Regions from separate parts of the Homo sapiens genome. Here regions 1 and 3 are each linked to region 2. Evidence: promoter capture Hi-C in 16 types of primary human blood cells and fetal thymus (Javierre and others, 2016). All regions are on one chromosome and are shown on one strand. The core of a region is centred on a gene start or on the middle of the fragment in contact, and the rest is flanking DNA. Distances in the headings are between cores, read along the strand shown.

The links. The method cuts DNA at HindIII sites, captures the fragments that hold promoters and counts their contacts. A CHiCAGO score of 5 or more calls a contact.
Region 1: a fragment that was not itself captured here is called in contact with the fragment with the promoter of STAMBPL1 in region 2 in 1 of 17 cell types (neutrophils); the score reaches 5.5 in neutrophils.
Region 3: a fragment that was not itself captured here is called in contact with the fragment with the promoter of STAMBPL1 in region 2 in 2 of 17 cell types (neutrophils and total CD4 T cells); the score reaches 5.1 in neutrophils.

The regions. Positions count from the first base shown.
Region 1 is chr10:87,847,626-87,851,968 of GRCh38, reverse strand. No RefSeq gene overlaps it. Among named protein-coding and RNA genes, the nearest start is that of KLLN, 14 kb to the left of the region's middle. The HindIII fragment of the contact is 3,042 bases long and covers 1,138-4,179 here.
Region 2 is chr10:88,878,875-88,882,754 of GRCh38, reverse strand. STAMBPL1 (STAM binding protein like 1) reads right to left here and starts at 2,510. Exons shown (of 11, transcript NM_020799.4): 1 at 2,117-2,510. LOC124902551 reads left to right here and starts at 2,091. Exons shown (of 1, transcript XM_047426134.1): 1 at 2,091-3,021. The coding sequence starts at 2,333. The coding sequence ends at 2,860. RefSeq lists enhancers at 1-781, 1,802-1,911 and a silencer at 2,492-2,621. The HindIII fragment of the contact is 2,730 bases long and covers 1,568-3,880 here.
Region 3 is chr10:87,810,804-87,814,675 of GRCh38, reverse strand. It overlaps ATAD1 (ATPase family AAA domain containing 1), which reads left to right. Exons shown (of 10, transcript NM_001321967.2): 2 at 64-238. The coding sequence starts at 77. Among named protein-coding and RNA genes, the nearest start is that of ATAD1, 5.5 kb to the left of the region's middle. The HindIII fragment of the contact is 4,017 bases long and covers 1-3,291 here.

The DNA of each region.
Region 1 (4,343 bases), core at 1,409-3,908, 1.0 Mb after region 2:
TATATGTCTATTATCAAGAGAATATTAAATAACCAGGAAAGAAGCTCGATTCTAATTGTATTTTAAAATAAATGAGCACCCTAAAGAATTTCCAGAATTTAAGCGTAAGGGTCTGTTTGGTGTTTGCTGGACAATAGAAATACATGGGAATATCTGCCATAAATGGTACATAGTAGAGATGTGTGGTAGACAGGCTGTATCTTATCCTGAATACCCTCTCTTCCCCAGATCAATGGTCTTGACCAGATCTATTTTTTACTCTTTGTACTATTTAATAACTTTTGCTGCTCAAAGAAAATGTCCTCGAAAAATAATCATATGACAGCACAGTACCCCCATCTTCTTCCATTCAAGAGAGTGGCAGACTGCTTTATCATCCAGTGCATAAGAGCTAGAAAAAAACTTCATAGACCCGCTAGTTTACCAATCTCATTTTACAAATGAAGAAACTGAGGCGCAAAGGGTTTACATGCCCCAGATTACACAGCAACTCAGTGAGGGATCCTCAGTTGGAGCCCGGAGAATTCCCTGATATACCCTATCAGTGAATAAAGATGGTAAGAAAGTCTAGCTTGTATAGAAACCTAAATGAGTTAGTTAGAAATTTGACTAGAGATGGTTTTTAATGACATTTTCAAGGCTTGGAAAGGAGTGAACAAAGAAAACAAGGAGATTGCTTAAATAGAGATGATAAATAGGGTTTGGGATGGAGAAAAACAAGGATAAGTGAATGAATGATTCCCGATGTTCACTCTCTAACCTTAAGTGCCTTGAAATTAGCCCATGACGCTAAATACCTTAAGGATCAAACATTAAAACATGAATAGCCACATGTTGCAAATTTGTTTCTCCTCCTTAGTTCCTAAGATTACTGGGAGAGTGTCTTTCAGACAAGAATATAAAGGAGGCAGCCGTTACATGTGGACCGCAGACAGAAAAGGGACTGTGAGGCCCGTGCTCTTTTGAAAGGAAGGAAACACCAAACCCACATGGAGCAAGGAGAACGCTGCCACCTGCTGAAGAGTTGGAGTCAATGAAAATGCTGCCATGCAGTTACAGTCAGCACCTTCATCATGGCTCAAAACCAGTTAGAAAACCTCTTTGCAGTCTGAGGCAGGTCAGTGCTGAGAGAAAGCTTAATTCTAGATTTCATCAGGCCAATGTGTGCTGGAGAAAGGTTAGTTTGTCTCTGGTAAGAGGTGGTAGAGGTCTGCATATCTGCTTCTCTTTCTTGCACAAATATTTATGCTTATTAGCTTTGAATTTTTTCCCAAAAGCTAAATCTCAAAATACTAACATATTCTTGGATGAGTCTAGATAAAAATGATATCAGAAAAGGCAATACAAGGAACTTTATTCAAGTAATGCATGCACTAAGTTAAAAATTCTCCAGGGCTCACCACTATCCTTCCCCAGATAAGTGGCTTCCCCCCGCCCCCACCAGCTTTCCATTTCTTCCTCTTCTATTCATGTACAAATATACACACACACACCAAGGACAACTGCAAGAGAGGGCTGGGAGAAAGTTGCCAATCCTTTGTATAAGGCCTCAGTCTTTCCCTTTTCGTCCATCGTTCCACTCTCCTTTCTCCTGCCCTCTCTTGCCATTCTTTCTTCCAATCCCTATTTTTCTCCTCTTGACCTCTATCTTTCAAGATTCCCCTTATTAATATACAAGAAACTGATATGGCTGAGAGATCCCCTGGGAAGGTGATATATACAGGACTGCCAAGTTACACAACTGCAAGGGCCACAAGTGATATCATATGTGATGCTGTTGTTTTGTACCTTTTGATTTTTCAACCACATAAATGTGTAGTAGCTTTAATTTATATTTAAATCTTTTTGAATCTGACCTTGGTCCCCAATGGTAGACCACTGTTTAATTTCATGGTTACACTAAATAATAAAATAAAGCAGTTCTAGGCCCTGCCCAGTTATAAGTCTCTTATTAAACAATGTTTTAAGATCAATAGAATAAGTTCAAAAAATACTCCTATTGTGATTTAGATTTTTCTCTCTTGTAGGAACTTCAGAAAGAATACCATAGAAAAACCTAATGTCAGAACTAGCTTAGGAGGGAAATTTTATCTTTTCTAAATATAATAGAACAGTTCCCTTTTGTAGATTTTTGTTACTTAATTGTACTAAATGTACTACTTTTTTTTTTTTTCTTTTTTGAGACGGAGTGCCCAGACTGGAGTGCAGTGGGGCAGTCTTGGCTCACTGTAACCTCTGCCTCCCGGGTTCAAGCGATTCTACTGCCTCAGCCTCCCAAGTAGCTGGGACTACAGGCACACACCACTATGCCAGGCTAATTTTTGTATTTATAGTAGAGACAGGGCTTCACCATATTGGCCAGGCTGGTCTTGAACTCTGAACCTCAAGTAATCCACCTGCTTCAGCTTCCCAAAGTGCTGGGACTACAGGTGTGAGCCACCTCACGTGGCTTAAATATTTACATTTATTAAAGAAGGTACAGGTTTGCATTGCAGGGAACCCTAAAGAAAAATGAAGTCTCTAAGTAAAGTCATGGTACTTGAAAATTAATCTGGGAATATTTCAAATCCTTAACATAAATTTTATGAAGTCAGGGAACTGGGAGAAAGCTAATGGATAGAAACAGACCATTTTCAGAGAAAAAAAAAATAACCTCATTTACATACATGGCTCTGAGCCATAAGTCATTTCTGAAATTTCTTTTCTGGACATGGCATCTTTGTCTTGGCTAGCTCCCAGGGTGCAGCCCCAGGCCATTGGCTGCTGCCACTCATAGGACCACTGTTTTCCTACCTCACCTGTTGAAACAAGTAAGAGGGAGGACTTAATTAAGGTGTGCTTTATTCTTGTGTTCTTGTAGACTTGTTCATTGTAAAATAGGATTTTCTGCATTTCAAATCTTGTTTATTTTACAATGTTGTGGCATTTGTCCTATTAACTGGTCAACTTTTCCTTATGACTTGAATTTGGCACATTAAATGTTCTCACTCTTTTCAAGTAGAATTAAACTGAGTCCTGCTTGAGAATGGCCATTACTCTGTTTTTGAAATGTACTGTCCTTTGCAACTACATCCAGAAATCTGCAAACCAGAAAATGTTTGCCCTTATTCTTTTTTGTCCTTTACCTTATTCAGGGCAAACATTTTCTGGTTTGCAGATTTCTGGATGTAGTTACCTTGGTGGTTTAGTGGGCTTGAGTTTGTTTCAGAAGCTGAGTCAAGGAATCCTGACCCCTAGTTCTCCCAAACTGCACAAATTATTTCTAATAACCTTCTCCAGTAGACATCTGTTTATTTTGCAATTAATAGAGAGTAAAGAAGGCCTTAAAGGCATTTGTGCTTTAGGGCACTCAATGTAAATGAATTACGATGCTGTCTTTGTATAACATCTTGGTTGATGGTAGACTAATGATGCCCTTTAAAGAAAGAAATGTGAGAATCATGAATAAAAATACTTCCAGAAGTTGTCAAAAGCCACATTATAGAAAGAAATTTGGTGTCTCATAGAACACTGATGGATTACTACTCATTGCTCACCAGTTATTTAAATAAGGCGACCAAGGGATTTTTCCCAAATATAGAAGATTGCTATGACTTACATATATGGACAGAGGGACTGTTCCTGAGTCCTTGAGAGGCACAGCAATGTCCTCAGTGATGTGACTTCAGTGAAACAGTTACACAGCTTAGGAGACTCCAACACAAGCAATTCCACTTTTGGGTATAAACATCAGAGTAGTGGTCTTCAAATAGGAGAAATAAGGTTCTTAGTTTCAAGAGAATCAATTCCATAACTTCCATATACACTTTCTCCTAAATCTGATGTGCCTCAGAACTAGTGTAGTCAAGTGGACCTAGTAGTTCCTTGTCCCCATTTCCCCTTTCACAGTGCCCTTTATCCCACTTTAAAAGAGAACAGAATACCCCTCTCCATCTGAATGCTGAAACGATGTACTGCCTGAAAGTGTAAAAACCTGCAAGGAGCTAAAGAGATCATCTGCAATAATGATATTGCTGCTAAGTAGCTGAATAATTTTACCAACAAACCCTTTTAAAAGTTAACCTGTTTAACATTAATTTTTTTTCTGGTAAATTGAAGGAGAACCTATTGAAACTATTCATTGAAAAATCATTACAAATAAGATCACTAAGTGATGTATGACATATAATTTGGGAAGCTTTCAAATAAATGAGTAACACTGCTAAAACACTTCCTTTCACTCACCATCTACTTATGTGAATAATATTACTCAATGTTTACAACATAAAAGCAAAAACTAGGGATAAATGATCTAATGCTGAACTTGTCTCCTTCTAGGAATATATAAAATTCATTTGTGATAT
Region 2 (3,880 bases), core at 1,261-3,760:
AGTCATTTCCTGTAGTTTCAGTTGAAGCCATCTATAAATCTTTCATAAGGTCAAGAAAAAGAAGATAGTAGCAGACAGAATCACAAATCCAGTAGATTAATTAAAATGTCCCTAATTTGTAAATGTACCCACCAGGAAAGCACCTAGCACTTCCTGGACGGAATCTACATTATTTTCTCTCACATTCCTTCTACTTCTCATGTTTTGGGCAAGAATCATCAGTTTTCTTTTCTTGTAAAATGCAATCTCATTTCTTGGATTGTAGCTGTAAATTCTTACAGCTGGGAAGGGTCCTAAAGGAAGGAAATGATCAAACGGTGTTAATTAAGTCCTATGTGCTGAAAGTAAGAAGAGAGAACTATTACTAACAATTCTTTATAACTATTTTTATCAGTCCTTCTTAGGAATCAACCCCAAAGACACTCTCTCCTCCAGAAGCAAATCTCTCTATTGAGGACATCCTCAGGAAACTGGTTCCTCACTACTCCCTCCAAGCCTCCCACAAACCGTAAGAATCCTATGAAACAGGGCAAGAGTACCAAGAAACAGGCCTTGAAGGTTGAGATAGAGGTAAAGGACTTAGGTTATCTGCCTTATAATTTAAATTTTGGTGCTTACTTTATAGGTGAGGATAAGAAAACAAGTTTCTTCTTGAAATTCCCAAGAACCAGTTGCTACATAAATTACAGCCAACGTATACGCAAAAGCAGATTCTTAGTGGCAATTTGCTGTATCTGTGTCTGAACAGAAAACAATCAGCCAATTCATTTTGCAGGTAGATTCCAATAACATTTTATGCCTTTGAATGGAGAAGCTCTCATGGTGCAAATGGTAAACAAAAAGAGCCTACTGCTCAGCGACACATTAACTTGTATTAAAAATAAAGATATGTATAGTGTAGCTACACAATGCCCACTACAATCCAGTGGCAGAGTATATTTTTGAAGTGCAATGTAGCATCCATCCTGAAAACACAAAATTTCCAATGGAAACAAGGTCGGGATAAAAACAAAACACGGTGGCTTAATTTCTGTGTAAAACAACCGTCAAAACCTACCCTCAAAAAAATTGACACGAACAATCAAACATTCAGGTATAATTTATCTGCTGGAACAAATCTACGTTATTGACCTTGACAGGGCCTTAAATCATGAGACCATAAACAAGCATCCTAGTGATATCTATTATGTCTTCGGAAATAGCTTAAAATCCAGGACTTCATGTTATTGTCAGTAATGAGCAAGATGTTTGGAAAGCAGTGTGCTCACTGGGGCTTACTTTGAAAGCTGTCTTTTTTACTTACTACCGAACACTGATTTCCAGGAAGCAAGCCACCCCACCCCACTTCCCAGGCACTTGATTTTTTTTTTCAAACCTCTAGATTGGGTTCCGTTTCCTGAATTACTTATTCCTTACATAAATTTTCTTTTAAACTTCAGCAATTATGGCACCTTAGGCTCTGGGGGTATCAGCAGCGTGGGTTGTTTTAGAGAAAGTTCTGAAAAAAATATGTTTTGGAGACATTCCATTTCTTTGTGCATCTCACTGGGGGCTTTCAGCGAAAGCTTTAAGTTATTCAGGTGAGGGGCAATGTCTTAGTCGCTCATAAAGGGCATAAAAGTAACATCATCTGGAAAGGCATGGCACCTGCTCGGCCGGGGTAAAGGTCCGTTTTTCTAACCCTCGCCCCTCCCTCCTCCACACCGCGCCGCTAGAGACAGTGCAGTGGTCTCTCCCAAGGTCGACATCATCTCCAAGGCTGCAACCCAGGGCTGAACCAAAAAAACAGGCGCACCCACGTATAGGTCACGGCCAGAGTCCCGCCCTGCCACCAGCAGCCAGGTCTTCCTGCCTCCCTATCAAGGTGAAACTAACCCAGAGGGCCCAGCGGAGGGGCGCATACAGGCGGCGCCGATGGAGGCGGCCGATTGCATGACTGGCAGGAAGGAAGCGATCAGCCGCCAAAGTGCATTTTTTCCTCCCCTAGAGCCAGCCCGGGACCGGACGCTGCCAGCGGAAGGGCCGGCGCGCGCCAGGCCACGAGGCAGACGCACCCGCCGTGCGCACTTCCCCGTCCGGTGCGCGCTCTCACTCACGCGCGCGCGCCGCTACTCACTAGCAACCCTTGGTGTCCGCAGCCCGTGTGGGACGGCGACTGCGACGGCTGCCCCCGTGGCTGCCGTGTGGCCTTGGCATCCGTCCGGCTGCTGCAACCCGGGCCGCGGTGGCTTTTGCTGGAAGGCGTTGCAGCGGGGTGATACCGGCACCCGGCGACGAGGCGTCCGCTCGTTTGCCTCGGCCGTGCCTCCTCCCCCTTCTCCTCTGCCGACAGATGGAGCTTTGCTGGTTCCAGTCGCGCGGGCTCCGTGCGTCGTTCTCCTCCTCGCTGTCGGACACCCCAGCGCAGGGGACGAACAGCGTCCTCGCAAGCCCACGCGCAGGCCGGCCGACCCCGAACCTGCAGCAACCGTCCCTGCTGCCGCTGCTGCAGGAAAATAAATTGTCACTGCGATGGTCCCGGCCTCCCCTGCCCCGGCCCCTGGGTGCCGCCTCCGCCTCTGCCTCCGCCCCCTCCTCTGTGGCGGCGGCGGCGGCTTCCCGCATTCTGCAGAAAAAGCTCGCAGGTGGAAGGAAGCAGGGCCCCTGCGGATGGCCTAGAGCCCGAGTGAAGCGGTTGGGTGCGACTTTCGCATCTGAAACCCTGCACGTCTTCTCCCCAGACCGGAACCACCTAAACTCCCTTTTGCTCCACCATCAATTTCACCGAGATGGACAGGAGTGGTGCCTTTTAAGACTGCACAGTACACAAGCCTTGATGCAGCTGACCGTTAAACTGTCACTGGAGTCTGGGGAAGGATAGGGTTTTGGTGAAAATCCCACTTATACTTCATGTTAGGATTCCCTTTTTGATATTTATCCACAACTGGCTACGCCCACTATTAAGCATCTTAGCCCTTCCCCCTACCCCCAATTTGTGTGTACTTGGAAAATAAGAAGTATTAGAATATCTCCTGGATGTTATGTTACTATCACGTGTGGTGTTCTTACTACAGTTCTGGCACTGTGTCAGGCAGTCGGTACACAAAATCTTAGTCCATCTGCCACAACCCTGTATATAAAAGGGACTCATTTTTTGTTTTTGTTTTTGTTTTTTCCATGAACGAGAGACAGAGAAGTAAAATAATTTATCCCAGGTTACTCACCTAGAAAGCAGTAGAAGCTGAAATTTAAACTCTGATCCAACACTGAAAGCTGTTTCTATTGGCTTCACAGGTTCTATTAACTGATAAACATTTTATGGAGACTGCTGCTGCTGGATGAAATAGAGTCGCTTTTCTTGAGCTTGGTTGGGAGCTTACTTCCAAGTGAGAGAAATGGCTGCAGAGTGGGGTGGGGAAACACTGGCTTTTCTTAGTTAGCCTTTCCTCTGGAAACCAAAATTCTAGCCCTGGCTCAGCCACCAACTGAGTTATTTGGTCTCAAGCATTTCACCTTCTTAAGCCTCATCTCCCTGGATTCTTTTTTTTTTTTTAAATGAAGAGTTTGATTGTTGGAGGCAGCCTGCAGCCTTGATTTTTAAGAAGCAACAGTGTTGTTTTGCTTAGTTTTAAGTTGGTTCCAAATGTTGAAGTTAGGAAATTTCACAGAAATTCAGACTTTTCACATTTTCTGTAAAATCGTAACATCAGACATTTGGTCCATGGCGAGTTCTAGCAACCATCAGCTGAAGCTGAATAGCAGGTGTCGCCTTTAGACTGTGAAGACACTCTTCAGTTTTCCACAGTCCCCACCACTCCCATACACCCCCACCTCACTGACATTTGAGAATATGGTAGGCATTTGAGTTTGCAGTATTGAACCAGATAATCTCATGACCTAC
Region 3 (3,872 bases), core at 34-2,533, 1.1 Mb after region 2:
TTAGTCTTACAATTTTAATAAGTATAGTTATTACCTAGTGACATTTCTGTTTGTTTTTTTAAGGTTAACATTCAAGATGGTACATGCTGAAGCCTTTTCTCGTCCTTTGAGTCGGAATGAAGTTGTTGGTTTAATTTTCCGTTTGACAATATTTGGTGCAGTGACATACTTTACTATCAAATGGATGGTAGATGCAATTGATCCAACCAGAAAGCAAAAAGTAGAAGCTCAGAAACAGGTATGATTGAAATGTTTGAAGATCATTTTTCTTGTGGCTAACAAGTATTTTCCCCTCAAACTAAAAATTTGGTAGAGTTCACAAATTAATGAGAAATTCTATAAGACCCACATGAAAATGTATTGGTACTCATAGTTTTATTACTCTTACAAAGTACTAGTTTATTATGACATTATTTCAAGTCATTTTTTACTATATAAACAACTTATCAGAAGAAAAATGAATAAACAATAAAATATTGTGAACATCTTCATTAGAATATTTTTGTCAGCTTTGGAGGTAGGATCTAGATAAAAGTTTTTAGGCTAACCCAAAATATTTATCTTCAGTAATGATATGCCTTTTGCTGTGTATGACATCTGAAATGTGGATAATACTGAAACGCTCTCAGTCTTAAACTTATAAGCTACACTAAAATCTAATTAATGAATTGCTGTAAAAGTTGTTGATTATTAATATAAGCTGTAGTTTTTAACTTTTTATCTGCTGCCTCTTGTGTTCATTTCCTTTTAAAGGTGATTGGTTTCTGTTTGTCATCAAAACATAAAAACCTTAAAGGAGTCTTACAGATTTTTTGTGCTGTTAGGTGGCTTTTCCCTTCTGGCTCTTTTTTTTTAAACAATAATTAATAACTAAAATATTTATGTCTTATTGAATATCTTATGGTATAATAACATAATTTATCTTAAAATAATTAAATAGGATATTCATGGATTTTTAGATCTGTCTTGTGAGTTGTGACAGATTTATTCAATAAACATTTATTGAGTCCCTATCAACTACTTGGTACCAAAGAAAAAAGATGAATAAATCTTGTTCTTTCAAAATGCTATAGGCTATTGTGGGAAATAGGGATGTAAATAAATGACTGTTTTACAATGTTAGCCCTTAAATCAGTAAAAAGTGAAAACCACAATTTTATAAACACTGCAATAAGTATATATCTGAAAGGCACTTTGGAGAATTCTGAACTTTTTCCTTGAATTTTATTATAAAATAGTTGACTGAAGTTCTAGATGATATTATCAGCCTATTTGTAAGTCTCTGGGAAGTCTGACCAGGGTAGATTTAAAAAAAAAAAAAAAGAAAAACTAGTTTGAGTATATCCATATGTCAACCTAAGTGTTGGGTTTTTTTCTCCCACCTGAATCATGAAAGTCAGTTTAAGTATGATGTCAAAATATTATAAGTTACATCGTTTCAGCATTTTAAAAAGCAGAGGTGTGACTTTTAAAGATAATTTTGTCTTTTTTTCCCCTTGGCTTCTAAGAACTCCTGAATACACATATAGAAGACATACAGAAAGCTAAATATAGATGCTAAGTACTACAAGCCTTCATTGAAAATTATGTGTATAGTATTATTCTAAATATTAGGTATATGAAACATTAGATATTATGTCCTTCATAGTGCCCATGATAGGGAGAAAAGACTTGTTCATGATAATATAAATTATAATAGTAAGTAGCATATCCCAGTTGCTTATTGAGTAGTGTAGACAGAAACTGTGGCTCTTAGAGAAAATAGTAGTCACCAGTGATTGTGGTAGTTGAAGATGGCTTCATGAAAGAGCTTGGCCTCTAGGGTAGGCAAGGACAGTTTTAAATAGAATGCATTACTTTTTCCTTCTTTGGTCCTTTTTGTTTTGTTGGGTGGACTGAGGCTGATAAAAAATACACAGCATTTTAGAATCCATCATCAACTGAAAAGGAGGGATACTTTTTGCTTCTAGCATTATCCCATTCCACAGTAATTTACCAGTGTTTAAAACACTCAGGATGAAATGGGATTTGCTTGGCCAACGGCTATAGCTTCTTGGTTACCCCTCCTCTTCTCTTCCCTACATCTCTGACCAGCTGTTAAACATGCTGTTGACTGGCCATGTGGTGGCTCACGCCTATAATCCCAGCACTTTGGGAGGCCGAGACAGGCAGATCACTTGAGGTCAGGAGTTGGAGATCAGCCTGGCCAACATGGTGAAACCCCATCTCTAATAAAAATACAAAACATTAGCCGGACGTAGTGGTGCACACCCAGCTACTCGGGAGGTTGAGAATTGCTTGAACCCGGGAGGCAGAGGTTGCAGTGAGCCAAGATCACACCCCTGCACTCCAGCCTGGGCAACAGAGAGAGACTCCATCTCAAAAATAAATAAATAAATAAATATGCTGTTGACCAATTGAAGACTTCTGTAGGCTTAACTCATTAAATATATTTGAATGGGTGGGTGATATACAATGTTTTAAGGATAATTCACCTTATAGTAGTATGCAGAAGGAATAGGAGTCAAGAGGTACTAGAAGCAAGATCTGTTGGTGATAGACTGCAACAGTCCTGGCAAAGACTTAGAATAAGAGGGTGACAAAAGGAATGACTTGAGTGAAATAGACTAACACAAATGAATGCAGGAAGGACTTTGTGATGATGTGGGAAAAGAAAAAGGACATCTTAAAATCTTAAAAACGAACCAAAGATTTGTCTGGATACCTCAAAGACTTATAATATCTTTTATAGAGGTTTGGAAACTGGTAGGTAGGGCAAATTTATGAGAAGATGACATTTGATCTGGCCATGTTGGGTTTGTGTTGGTGGTAGGAATTCAGGAGGAAATGTTCATATAGCAATTGAAGTTGCAGGTCTGAATCTCAGAAAAAAGGTCAATCCAGAGGTATATTTCCTTATCGATGGTTATAAGTAGTTGAAGTCGTTAGAACAGTGAGTAGGCCATATGGTTATTCCTGTATGTGTAGATATCATTTGTAGAACTTTTCCCAAATTATTCCCCATCTCCCCTCACCACCATCAAGATTTATACATATATTTGTTGAGAAATTCTAATGTAATTGTCACTGTAATAAATGGTAATGACTATACTAAGAGTGATGAAGTCTCCAAAAGAGGTGGTGTAATGCAGCATAATTGGTAAGCTGAAGCGTAAGCCTTGATACATTTCCTTTATTTAGGGTATAGAAAGATGATGTGCAGCCAGTGAAGAATGAATAGGTCAGTATGGGTAACAAGACTGACTCCTGCTGAAAACAGCTAAAGAAGCTTGATAATTTTTTAAAAATCTTGTTTTATTTATTTATTTATTTATTTATTTTTGAGTTGGAGTCTTGCTGTGTTGCACAGGCTGGAGTGCAGTGGTACAATCTCAGCTCGCTGTACCCTGCTTCTTCCGGGTTCAAGTGATTCTCCTGCCTCAGCCTCCGGAGTAGCTGGGATTACAGAAGTGTGCAACCACACGTGGCTAATTTTTGTAGTTTTAGTAGAGACGGGGTTTCACCATGTTGACCAGGCTGGTCTTGAACTCCTGACCTCAAGTGATCTGCCCGCTTTGGCCTCCCAAAGTGCTGAGATTACAGGTGTGGGCCACTGTGTCTGGCCTAAAAATCTTAAAGGCATTCATGAGCTATCAACAAAGTAAAGAATGCAGGTTAAAAACTTAAGGCAAAAATTTCAGAAAGCTAAGGTGAGCTTGATTGCCAGCCTTTACCTTGAGAGAATTTGCTGAATTCTGTTTTTATGATTTCAGAGGGGCTCAGTATACAAAACATAGGGCCAATCTAAAGTAGGTAGTTTCATAGATGATACTCCTATAAATCTAGAACCCCAAAAGGCTATCTGTAGTATT